Regions from separate parts of the Homo sapiens genome. Here all the other regions are linked to region 3. The links are contacts of gene promoters, found by promoter capture Hi-C in blood cells and fetal thymus (Javierre and others, 2016). All regions are on one chromosome and are shown on one strand. The core of a region is centred on a gene start or on the middle of the fragment in contact, and the rest is flanking DNA. Distances in the headings are between cores, read along the strand shown. Region 1 overlaps KDM6A (lysine demethylase 6A). Region 2 overlaps KDM6A (lysine demethylase 6A). Region 3 holds the start of DUSP21 (dual specificity phosphatase 21).

Evidence for each region. Contacts are between HindIII fragments. The CHiCAGO score rates a contact against its expected background, and 5 or more counts as called.
Region 1: a contact is called between a fragment that was not itself captured here and the fragment with the promoter of DUSP21 in region 3, in 1 of 17 cell types (erythroblasts). The highest score is 5.2, in erythroblasts.
Region 2: a fragment that was not itself captured here is called in contact with the fragment with the promoter of DUSP21 in region 3 in 1 of 17 cell types (erythroblasts); the score reaches 6.1 in erythroblasts.

What each region holds. Positions count from the first base shown.
Region 1 is chrX:45,086,064-45,089,893 of GRCh38, reverse strand. KDM6A (lysine demethylase 6A) reads right to left here. Exons shown (of 30, transcript NM_001291415.2): 26 at 1-151. Among named protein-coding and RNA genes, the nearest start is that of DIPK2B, 110 kb to the left of the region's middle. The HindIII fragment of the contact is 1,029 bases long and covers 1,072-2,100 here.
Region 2 is chrX:45,058,643-45,062,536 of GRCh38, reverse strand. KDM6A (lysine demethylase 6A) reads right to left here. Exons shown (of 30, transcript NM_001291415.2): 11 at 3,433-3,531; 12 at 3,071-3,290; 13 at 2,381-2,515; 14 at 1,773-1,928; 15 at 1,118-1,213. Among named protein-coding and RNA genes, the nearest start is that of DIPK2B, 140 kb to the left of the region's middle. The HindIII fragment of the contact is 2,123 bases long and covers 191-2,313 here.
Region 3 is chrX:44,842,154-44,846,191 of GRCh38, reverse strand. It overlaps DUSP21 (dual specificity phosphatase 21), which reads right to left and starts at 2,171. Exons shown (of 1, transcript NM_022076.4): 1 at 1,304-2,171. The coding sequence starts at 2,059. The coding sequence ends at 1,487. The HindIII fragment of the contact is 1,701 bases long and covers 1,979-3,679 here.

The DNA of each region.
Region 1 (3,830 bases), core at 337-2,836, 240 kb before region 3:
CCAGCCAATAGCCTGAACCCAATGAACAGTGCCTGCATTTATCCAGACCAAATCTCCAGGTCGCTGAATAAACCTATACACTGGAACATTTGCTTCATAAAGATCTTCAAGATTGGGCCACCAAGAACCCATTAGGAAATTCAAATTATTTCTGAAATAAGAAAAAAATAATGCAAATGGATCAACTACATTAAGAAGCTCCTAGTAAGACTGGAAGAAAATGTCACAAATTTTTTAAATAAACACTTGTTCATTTTATTGAAACATAATTGCTTGTGCAAAAAGATCTGCTGTATGTATATAGAGTGTGTAATTATGGTTGAGTACTAAATTACTAAAGATCAGTGTTACTTTTTTTTTTTTTTTTTGAGACAAAGTCTTGCTCTGTTGCCTGGGCGGGAGTGCAGTGGCTCCATCTAGGCTCACTGCAACCTCCGCCTCCTGGGCTCAAGCAATTCTCCTGCCTCAGCCTCTGGAGTAACTGGGATTACAGGCACCTGCCACCACGCCTGGCTAATTTTGTATTTTCAGTACAGACGGGGTTTCACCAGGTTGGCCAAGCTGGTCTCGAACTCCTGACCTCAGGAGATCCGCCTGCTTCGGCCTCCCAAAGTGCTGGGATTACAGGAATTATAATACCTGTAGTAAGTGGACCGGCCCAGCATTACCATCTTAAATTGATTTTTCAAAGATCCAAATGAAATCCAAAGCTACTTTCAAGTAACACATAAATTCACTTTCAATTTCATTTCAACAAAGACTATTTTTGACTGAAGCCTTCTCCCTGGAGCACCTAGAAATCCCTAAAAGGTAAATGGAAGGTGGAGTTGACATCAAGTCATTTAAATCCATAAACAGGAACACTGTGGCAATACAAGTACCAGGAACTTCCCTTAATTTCTGAGGAAAAGGAGACTGGATGTCAGACTCCATATAGTTTGATGATTAGCTGATTAAAACTATGCAGTTCAAAACAACTTCAGCAAAAACAAACAATCACGCACATGCACAAATAATCATGACCACTACTACCAATATACTTTGGAAACATTCCTTAGATATTATTAAGCTTTTATTTTAATATCTGGCTTCTTATTCTCCATCATGATATGAAGTACTTTTTAAACAACATAGCAACCTTTCCCATAAAAGAACTTTATAAAATTGAATTAACCACTTCAAATTTCATATTTTGGGGAAGGAAGAACTTACACAGTAAAAATGTTCCTTTCCTTAAGATCTAAGAAATAATCTTACTTTATTTGTCTTGTGCTATAGCACATGATAAAGTATACTTTACAATTGTTTTTACTGGTTTAAATTTAATTTTTTATCTAGATCAAGGGTTGGCAAACTATGGCCCACGGGCCAAATTCAGCCCACTGCCTGTTTCTGTAAAAAAAACTCATTAGAATACAGCTATGTCCATTCACTTACGTACTATCTCTGTGTCTGTGCTATAATGACACAGTTGTGACAGACAGCGCATGACCAGGAAAGGTGAAAATATTTATTATCTGGCCCTTCATGGAAAAGAAATCGCCAAACTATGATCTAGAAAGAACCTTAGTCTCTCTTTTTCTCTCTTGAAAAATGCAAGGCTACTCTTGAAAGTTTAGACTAGAGTGCAAATGGTAGCCTAACTGCAAAGGGATAAGGATTGGCTTATTGTGTGTGACAAGGCCAAGTAGATACAGTCCAGAAAAAGTTGCCTATAAAGCAAAAAATGGCTATAGACACAAATCCTAGCCTTATTTCACCCATGTATTGCCATTACAAAATTAGAGAAAACTTTTTATCCAAAAGCAAGCAAGTAATCCCAAACAGACACCCCCCGCCCCAAAAATCAAACTTACCAAAAAGCATGCATCATTTTAATCATATATTCAAAAGAATGGTTATTTCAAGACAGGTATTATTTAAAGCCATAAAATAAACTACAGATACAGTATACAGTCACTATCAAAAGCAACAATCTTTATGTGAAACAAAATTACAGTGAAATGCTGAAGAAGCAAGTACTACTTTCACAACTGAGTTATTAGATTTACCTAACCCTTCCTTCTAACTTGATATTTTTATTATCCCTACGCTCAAGCTTTTTGGACATCATCTGCTTATTCTAATTATCTTTTTTCCCAAGACACCTCTCCATTTAGATAGGAAACAAAACTACACCCTAAAAATAGCCAGTCCCTACTCAGAAACAATGAACAAGGATTCCTGTACTATAGCTGCAACAATATAGTATTAACTCAAAGTTTAAGAAATAAAAATCTTTCTATAGCACAATGGAGATTTCCCATATAACAATGTTCTTTCTCTGCTGCTACTGGTCCATAAAAAAAGTACAGATTAAAGTAATCAGGTTATTTCATCAGTACATTAGAAGCTTTAAAACTCTGTATCTTTGGCTTTCTTACATTGAAGGAAACCAATATATGAATAGAGAAGACAACATAAGGTAATTATCTCTTGCTTTTATATAAGGAAACTGTGGATTAATATATTTTTTTGTTTTTCAACTACGATGCACTTCTTACTAAATCCAAATATTTACAGCAAAGATTCTTAAACCAAAGTAAGAAATTAGAAGTTAGTATGGGGCTGGGCGTGGTGGCTCACGCCTGTAATCCCAGCACTTTGGGAAGCCAAGGTGGGTGGATCACGAGGTCAGGAGTTCGAGACCAGCCTGGCCAACATGGTGAAACCCTGTCTCTACTAAAAATACACAAATTAGCAGGGCATGGTGGCACACCCCTGTAATCCCAGCTACTCAGGAGGCTGAGGCAGGAGAATTGCTTGAACCTGGGAGGCGGAGGCTGCAGTAAGCTGAGATTGTGCCACTGCACTACAGCCTGGGCAACAGAGCAAGACTCCGTCTTAAAAAAGGAAAAAATAAAAATAAAGTAGTATGTGGAATATGTGTATAATTAGTTTTCAAAGTAATCTCATGTAAATGTTTTCTGTGGGTGTTTTCCCCCTTTAATTGGGGTGGGGGCATAACACCAAATGTGTATATAATGTATATTTTCATCCTATACTAATTTGCTAATGTTATTACTAAATGAAAATACCAGGTCCTTATATAATGAAGTACTTTCTAGAAAAGAAGAGAATAAGGTTCTAGAAAAGAAGAGAGTAAGGTTCTATCTAGACAAATGATCAAATTGAAACCAACTAAAAAAAAATTCCAAAGTACTTTTTAACACAAGACACAGAAGTAAATAAAAGCTATTTCTGGGATCTTAAGGAAAGGAACTATCCAAGTTCTTTCAACTAGAGAAAACAAAATCTGGGCTGGATGTGGTGGATCATGCCTGTAATCCAGCACTGTAGGAGGCCCAGGCAGGTGGATCGCCTGAGCTCAGGAGTTCAAGAGCAGCCTAGGCAACATGGTGAAACCCCATCTCTATTTAAAAATAAAAAATAAATAATACATTTTATAAAATTTCTTCATAGAAAAAGTTGTCAGTTTAAAAAGAATTTATATCATGATATGGCAAAAGGTATTATGGTCAAGCTTGAGTTATTCACAGCCTATACGGGTGCTCAATAAAGAATTCCTTCTACTTCCTAAAACCATTTATAACAAAACAATTTTTCTTGGAATACACACATTTCAAATGAATAAGTATGCATCATTTTAAAAATTAAACTAATAACTCAACTTTTCTATCTTCTTAATTCATGGGTACTACTACTGCATGAAGTTGTTTCATGGCATCTTTCTTAAAGTATTTCCAATAACACAAAATATGAGGTTTGGAATCAAATAATTTAAAATGAATTCTTCGCTGAATGGTAAGTGAATACTGGCAATGTATCCA
Region 2 (3,894 bases), core at 3-2,502, 220 kb before region 3:
AAACACACTGTCTTCTGACCAACAGTCACACACTCCAAGATGAAGTCCTTTAATAAGCTTGAGAAATATAAGAATGAACTAAGCATTCATCTGAACAAGATTTACTATGAGTTCTTTGTAATAGATGGGCATGAAATTTTACTCATCCATACAGTATTCTTAGGTATTCACAGAGAAAACTCTTGAAGCTTAAAAATATATTGACAAGTATGCTAAAAGCAGCACTGTCTGGAATAAGCAAAGTCTGAAGACAACCTGAATGTCCAAAATTACTGATCTGCTTAAATAAAGGTGTTACATCTATATAAAGAAATATGATGTAACCATAAAAGAACAAGGAAGCTCTTCACATATTGACATGCAGAAGTCTGTAAAATATGTTGTTAACAGCAAATAAGAATCCTATCATTTGTGTAAAAAAGAAGAAAAATAATAATACATGTGAGAAAGGGGGGGATGTATATTTGCTTGTACATACATAACATACCTCTGGAATGATAGATAGGAAATTAGTAATACCAGCCACATTTTGAGTGGGTAGGGGCCAGAGTTAGAAGAAAACTTTACCCTATATACCCTATATTTATACTTTATGTAGTGTAAACCATGTCCTGTTTAAAAAAAAAAAAAGAAATTAAAAACAAGAATGAATGCTCTTCATTATTCTGGTAAATGCAGGCTCATTTTACTTTTGTGCATTTTAATTGAATGTACTGCCATTTAACTTATAAGAATTAATACTTAGGGCTGGGTGCAGTGGCTCACACCTGTAATCTCAGCACTTTGGGAGGCTGAGGTAGGTGGATCACTTGAGGTCAGGAGTGCAAGACCAGTCTGGCCAACATGGCGAAACCCAGTCTCTACCAAAAATATAAAAATTAGCGGGGTGTGATGGTGCGTGCCTGTAATCCCAGCTACTCTGGAGGCTGAGGCACAAGAATAACTTTAACACAGGACGCGGAGGTTGCAGTGAGCCAAGAGCGTGCCACTATACTCCAGCCTGGGTGACAGAGCAAGACTCTATCTCAAAAAAAAAAAAAAAAAAAAAAAAAATTAATACTTGTTTGCTACCTCTACTCCTTTTTAATAAACAATTTGTCAAAAACATCTTACATACCTGTAATTTCTGTGGTGTCAAACACCATGAATGAGCTTGTTGCTGTACTGGAGGATGTGACACAGCATGTCCACCACTCCAATTGTCAGAAGTATTCTGAGGAAAATCGATTTAAAAAAAAAATTAAAGAATATTTGGTTAAATCCACAGTTAATAATAATGGTTAGAGGAGGCCAAATGACTATGAATTGGAATATTTACATGTTAAAAAGATGTTATAACATTAAATTCTTTAAAAAATAATTTTACATGCATATTAAACTTAGAAATCATACATTTAAAAATTACTGACTATTTAATAAGCCACCCAAAAAGGCCCACCCTCAAACTATGGCCCAAACGGCTAGCCTAAACACCACACTGTCCACTAGATCCAACATTAAATTTATTTCAATGTCAGTAAAAAGTGATGATGAAAAGTGTGCTGGGATCTTAACGGCAGGGAGATGAATAAAATGATTTGATGAATGCAAATTTATCCCTACTTTCTATATTTAATATGATACTAAGGGTTTGGGATGGAAAAACTCAAACCTTTCACTCTTTGATGTCCACAAATTTAAAATAAAGGACAGGAAATGTTCAAACTGCACAATTTCAGGGCAGCTGAAACTTCTTTTTTGACTGGGATTTTCTATTTCTCTAAAACATATACCTTTGTTGGACTAGATGTTCTTTTCCTCTTGGCAGGACTGGACAGGTCATCTACTTGGCTAGAAGGAATCATGTGTAGTGGCAAGGATTGCTGTGAAATTGGTGTTTGACTGAGGCCTAATACAGGTTCAGTATTTGGATGATGAGGTTTACATGCCTAAGAATCACAGAAGGAAGACAAAAATAGGGTTCTATATATTCTTAATTCATTCCTTCAAATTATAAAACTTTACAAGCTGCATACTTTTCAAAGCTATGTGGACATCGCTGATTGCAATGATTGAAAATCAAAATTAAATGATTCATCAATGGAATAATGTGTACCTTCCTTTGAAAAACTTGCCTTAAAAATTAAACAAACCACTGTAGCATTATTTTAAGAAATCTCCTTCAAAATCATGAAAATGCACAAAGGTTCTAAGTTGGTACCCCAAAATCTCTTCCCATATTAGAGGGAATTTTATTTTGATCTAGATTCCCTTTGCAATTAAATCAAAAGGCTTTTCATTACTAAAAGCCTCCTGTGCTTAGTAAATTAAGCTTGACCACTAGAGAATTGAAAAGAACCCTTAAAGCTGGGCACCTGCAGAACATAACCCAACTTCTCACCTGCTGTGCTGTGTTCATGGCACCCTGCCTGGAGGTAAGCTCTGCGGGAATTGGTAGGCTCCACGCCTCCTCAATACTAGGAAGTAATTTAGTTTTATTCTGTAGACTACCTTGTGGAAGGTTACACAACTGAGCCTAGGAAAAATTATGTAAAAAGCAAATTTAACACAAGCCTACTTGAGTAAGAGCAAGTCCACTAAATCTTCCTAAATGCTATAGCTAATTGTTTTTAAAAGAAAATAGATTCTAAATTTGGGGCTTTAGAAGACACTAAGTATAAACAGGGTAACCGGAATATAAACCTTTGTGAGAATCAAAACAAAGCTGAGCTCTGTTTTCAGAGTTCTCATAGCTGTCTTCTCAAGAAACTCCAAGCAAGAGTGAAAGACTGTTTGTGTTTTCTATAAAATGCTATGACAACTTAAAAATGTAGACAGTACATAGAAAAAAATTATGTAAATTAATATGCATCAACAGAGTAAATGTGCAAAAGAGCATCTTTAAAAATACTGCATATCTTACTTAAAATGAAAAGTAAAATAATATTACAAGCTATGGTATGTTTACAAAATATGGAAACAGATTATAGACATCAAAACACAACTAGACAAACTTTCCAGCCACCCTCCTTCTGCCTGAGTGTTCTGGGGAAATATGTGGCTTTAAAAAACTGCCATTTAAAAATTTTACCTGTAAATACTTAATTCGTGCTGCAAGTGCAGAGGTATTACTACAACTTTTGCTTCTAGTTGCATTTAAGTAGCATTTAATGGCATCCTGAGGCTGGTTGCAGGATTCATAGAGAGTGCCTAGGTCCATCCAGGCTGCAGCATGGCCATGGTCCAATTGTACAGCACAAATATAGGCCTGTAAAGCATCCATGGGCTGATTTTGCTGCTGATATAGCACACTGGAAAGAGAAATTAAGAAAAAATAAGTCAACTCAGAAGAACTGCTTGGTTTTATAATGATTTAAACTATGAAGTACTATATGTGATGCAACCATCTTTGTATATCAATTAAATTACTACTATTTTTATACAAAGGCTTACCCTATTGAACACCATGTATCTGCACTTGCTTCTGATTTATCAATAGACTGCCTGTAAGATATAAAGGCATCCTGAACTTTCCCAATACTTGAATAGCACCTGAGAAGGGAAGGGAAAAAAAAAAAAAATCAAGAGAATTCCATTAATACTGAAACAAATTAATCGGCTGAAAGGATGGACTATATATCACAGCAAATTTTTTTAAAACCCTAATAAGTTAATATATTTATGTGTATGTATGTATATACTTGTTAACTATAATGAATATTATAATTTGCCCTCCAACAAACCATATTATAGTCTGTCTTATAGGTGCTAAAAAGCATGCTGCATTAATGAACTCTATTAAAATGATTAGGGGACATATCACTTCAATATTATAATACTGAGAGCTGCATGCACATGTGCACACACACACACACGGCACTCTTCCACTCTTCTTATACAGCTTGACCTCTAGTT
Region 3 (4,038 bases), core at 922-3,421:
GTGAATGCCCCCATGCATCCTGGTAATGAGCAAAACCAGGGTGCTGGCTCTCACGGTTAGTGACTCTAAACAAGTGTTTCAGGGAAGCAGAAATTGTGCTTCTACACGACCCCTTGGATGCACATGGATTAAACACAATGGGACCTCTATAAAGGCTCTAAATCTAGGCCCCCTCCGCTTTGTTTTTTCTTTTTTGAGACGGAGTCTCGCTCTGTCACCCAAGGCTGGAGTGCAATGGCGTGCTCTTGGCTCACTGCAACCTCCACCTTCCGGGTTCAAGTGCTTCTCTTGCCTCAGCCTCCCGAGTAGCTGGGACTACAGGTGCCAGCCACCATGCCCGAATCTAGGCCCATTCTAAGGTAAGGTCCAAAAGGACCTTAAGCCATTTGTTTTTAGATTTTTTGGAAGAACATTTTGTAAATAACAAAGGACTGTGCACAGATGGGGGAAATGCCATTATGAGGATGAGTGTGCTGACCTCAAACCAGGGTCAAAGAGTATCATTGCCTTTTACTCCAAGCATGAAACCATTCATGTGCCAGGTACTATGCTAAGGAACCCAGTCCTCACAACAACTCTATGGGAGACAGTTGCTTTGACAGGTGAGGAAAGTGAAGCTCTGAGAGGACCAAGGTCACAATGAAAGGAGATGTTAGAGGTGACAGGGCTGGGTCATGGCCAGCAGCTCCAGCCTCTTAAGCCAAGGCTCATGAGAGGAACCCCTGAGGCCTGGTGTCAGGCCTGTTCTCTCTCAGTATATGCCCTGGGAAAAGGACTATGTCCCTTTTCACAAAGGCCGGTGGGAGATCACCAAAGACACCTTGAGAACTTGCCATCAAGTACAGCAGTCAAAAAAATACAATATTTTTAAACTTTATGGAGTGGAATGGTCTTTTAAAAAACTAGTTTTTTTTTTTTTAACTAATGTATAAATCCGATCTAGAAAACCAGAGATGGGCCACTGTGATTGAAGGTGGGCAAGGGTAGCCTGAGACTCCTCCAGAGCTCCTGGAGCACAGCTTGAATGAAAGCCACTTATCCACTAGGTTGGCACTTACTGGGAGAAGTGCAAGGGATGCCAAGATGTCTAAGGCTTTGACTTTGGGTTGGAAAGAACCGGGTGAGATTCTAGGGGATTCACTCCTGGGTTAGTCAGCCTCTGGCAGGGCTCAGGATTCCAGGTCTGCCACATGTATTGGGTGCTGCTGGCAGGTCTATGTGAGCTGAGCATTACTTGCCCCACCCTGGTTCCAGCCAGGCCCCAATAGCTTGACCTCACAATATAAAAAATATTTTCACTATCTTATGTTTCATGAATTTAATTCTATTAAGGTAAGGCTTACTACGTTCAAAACTCCAACCCCCTCCCTTTTTTCTTGCCCTTTAACAAGGCACCATCCGGTTTTCTTTACTAACAAAATGTCAGTGTTCAAGTTCAGTCTTGGTGCAAGATCGATGGCAGATGTCAGGGGCTGGCCGGGATGGCTTACATTGATATCATCATACGTAGGTCCTTCTCATAGATGTCAGGGATGTTACCTACCGGCGAGTTGATCATGCGCACGGTGTTGTTATTAAACAGCTTGAATTCGTAATTGATGAGCTGTTCCCAAAAGCCGTTGTTGGGCCGGATGATGGGGCGGCGCGACTTGGTCCATGTATGGGCGTCCAGCAGCGACATGGAGTGGTATTTCATGAGGTACGCAAGGCACAGTGAGGCGGAACGGCTCACTCCAGCCATGCAGTGCAGCAGCGTACGGCCCTGCCTCATATCGATGGTGTGGATAAGATCAGCAATGGGGTCAAAAAAGTCGTAGAGACGCGAGTCACGAGCATCGGTAACAGGCACCTTTATGTACTGAATGCCCTCGAAGAATACGTTGACCACTTCCACCGAGGCATTGACAATGGCGGTGATGCGATTGCTGGACAGAAGGAGTTTGTCGTTGGCGGCCACACCATTGCTGAGAAACAAGCTTCTGGTTATTTGGGAGAAGCTGTAGATGGAGGGCTGCTGGACACCCTGAGATGATGAAAAGGAGGACGCGGATGCTGTCATCAAGGCGGCTGGTCCGAGGTCTCTCTACGCTGGTTCGGGACACAACACTTACCAAGCTAGTTCAGGATAGCAGCCGCGCCGCCAAGTCTCAGGCTAGGTGTTGGAGAAAGAGGACCAGCTATCGGCCACCACCCTCTTTCTGTCTCCTCTCACCACTCCCATCTGGGCGTCACAATCCCGGACAGATAGCCCTGCGGCTCCGGTTTCCATGGCAATGGCCGCTTGCCGCAAGGAGGACAGGGCCTCTAAGCAGGGTCTTCAGAGACACCCCAGTCTCTTTTCTTTTTATCTTTCTTCATAGTCATTTATTTTCCAAGGCCTAATTCTTATCTTTCTTGACTTTTAAAAATGTTCTGTTACAAGATATCTATTTTATGTTTCAATTATTGGACCACGTTAAACAAGATCTATGAATACTTCTATTTCATCAGTGTTGCAGAACAGGGCTTACACTTTCCCTGCAAAATAGCAATATCACATTCTAAGTTGGGGAACAGCATTTGGCTCATGTGATATGCTAATCTCTATAAAACTGGAGCGAGATATGGGATTTGGCTGGGCTTGGTGGACTGGCCTGATACTTCTTTGTTGATTGTAACCATAAAATTATTTTCCTGCTTACAAACACATCAGGGCTGGTTGTAAGAGAGCATTGCTAACTGATATATAGCCCTTTATCTTGAAGTTGGCCTGTGGTGGACAGTTGTGACTAATTTAGCTGTGTCATAGTCCATTTGTACATACAGCTCAAATGACTTACCGCATGAGTCTATTTTATTACCTGAAACAACAGTTCAAATTATTTTGTTTACTTTCTTCAAAAAAAAATGCCTACATGCTTTGTGAACTACAAATCACTTTGACCACTACCGATGCTGTCTTCCCAGTAATATTAAACATTCTGAAACAAGTTAATGCTACATGGTAATTGGGCCAAAAATTGAGACAGTTTTGCTCTGTCACCCAGGCTGGAGAGTCCCAGGCCTCTGCTTCCTGGGTTCAAGTGATTCTTGTGCCTTAGCCTACCGAGTAGCTGGGATTACAGGAACGCACCACCACACCTGGCGAATTCTTGTATTTTTAGTAGAGACAGGATTTCACCATGTTGGCCAGGCTGGTCTCAAACTCCTGACCTCAGGTGATCCACCGGCCTCGGCCTCCCAAAGTGCTGGGATTACATGCACGAGCCACAGCACTCAGCCCAAAAATTAATTTCTAAAATGTAACCTGACATTTGCATTTCCTTCCAGCTAAGATTTTTATAGAATTTGGCTGAAAATTGAAAAGAACTATAGCCTAAAACTAACAAATTGTTTCACAGAGTAGCCAATTGACTCACATACTTTGCTCTCATTCCATCATCATTTTGGTATGTGTTCAAAGGTGTGCTGTGATTACGAACAAAGATGAAATAGATACCAGGCTGCTTATGATGGTCAAGGAAATGATAACCTCAAAACACAACACACGTTTCTTTTCTCAGTTGTCATAATCAAATTATTTTGCATTACTTAAATTGTCAGTCCCCACAAAGCTATCTGGAAGAAAATAGAACACGAATACTAAATAAATATGAAAACTGTTTGTTGGGGGCAGCTCAGCTGGGCTAACGGAGAAGCTTTGTAATCTATGTAGTAATGTGGAGGCCCTAAACTAGTATTGGAGTCTACTTATTTCATAAGTATACACTTCTTAAACTTTAAAACTAAGTACAATTAACAAAATAATTTCAGACACTATTTTCTTTTCTTTTTTTTATTTTTATTTTTTTTGAGACGGAGTTTTGCTCTTGTTGCCCAGGCTGGAGTGCAGTGGCGCGATCTTGGTTCACCACAACCTCCGCCTCCCAGGTTCAAGCCATTCTCCTGCCTCAGTCTCATGAGTAGCTGGGATTACAGGCTCGCGCCACCATGCCCAGCTAATTTTTTGTATTTTTAGTAGAGACGAGGTTTCACCATGTTGGCCAGGCTGGTCTCAAA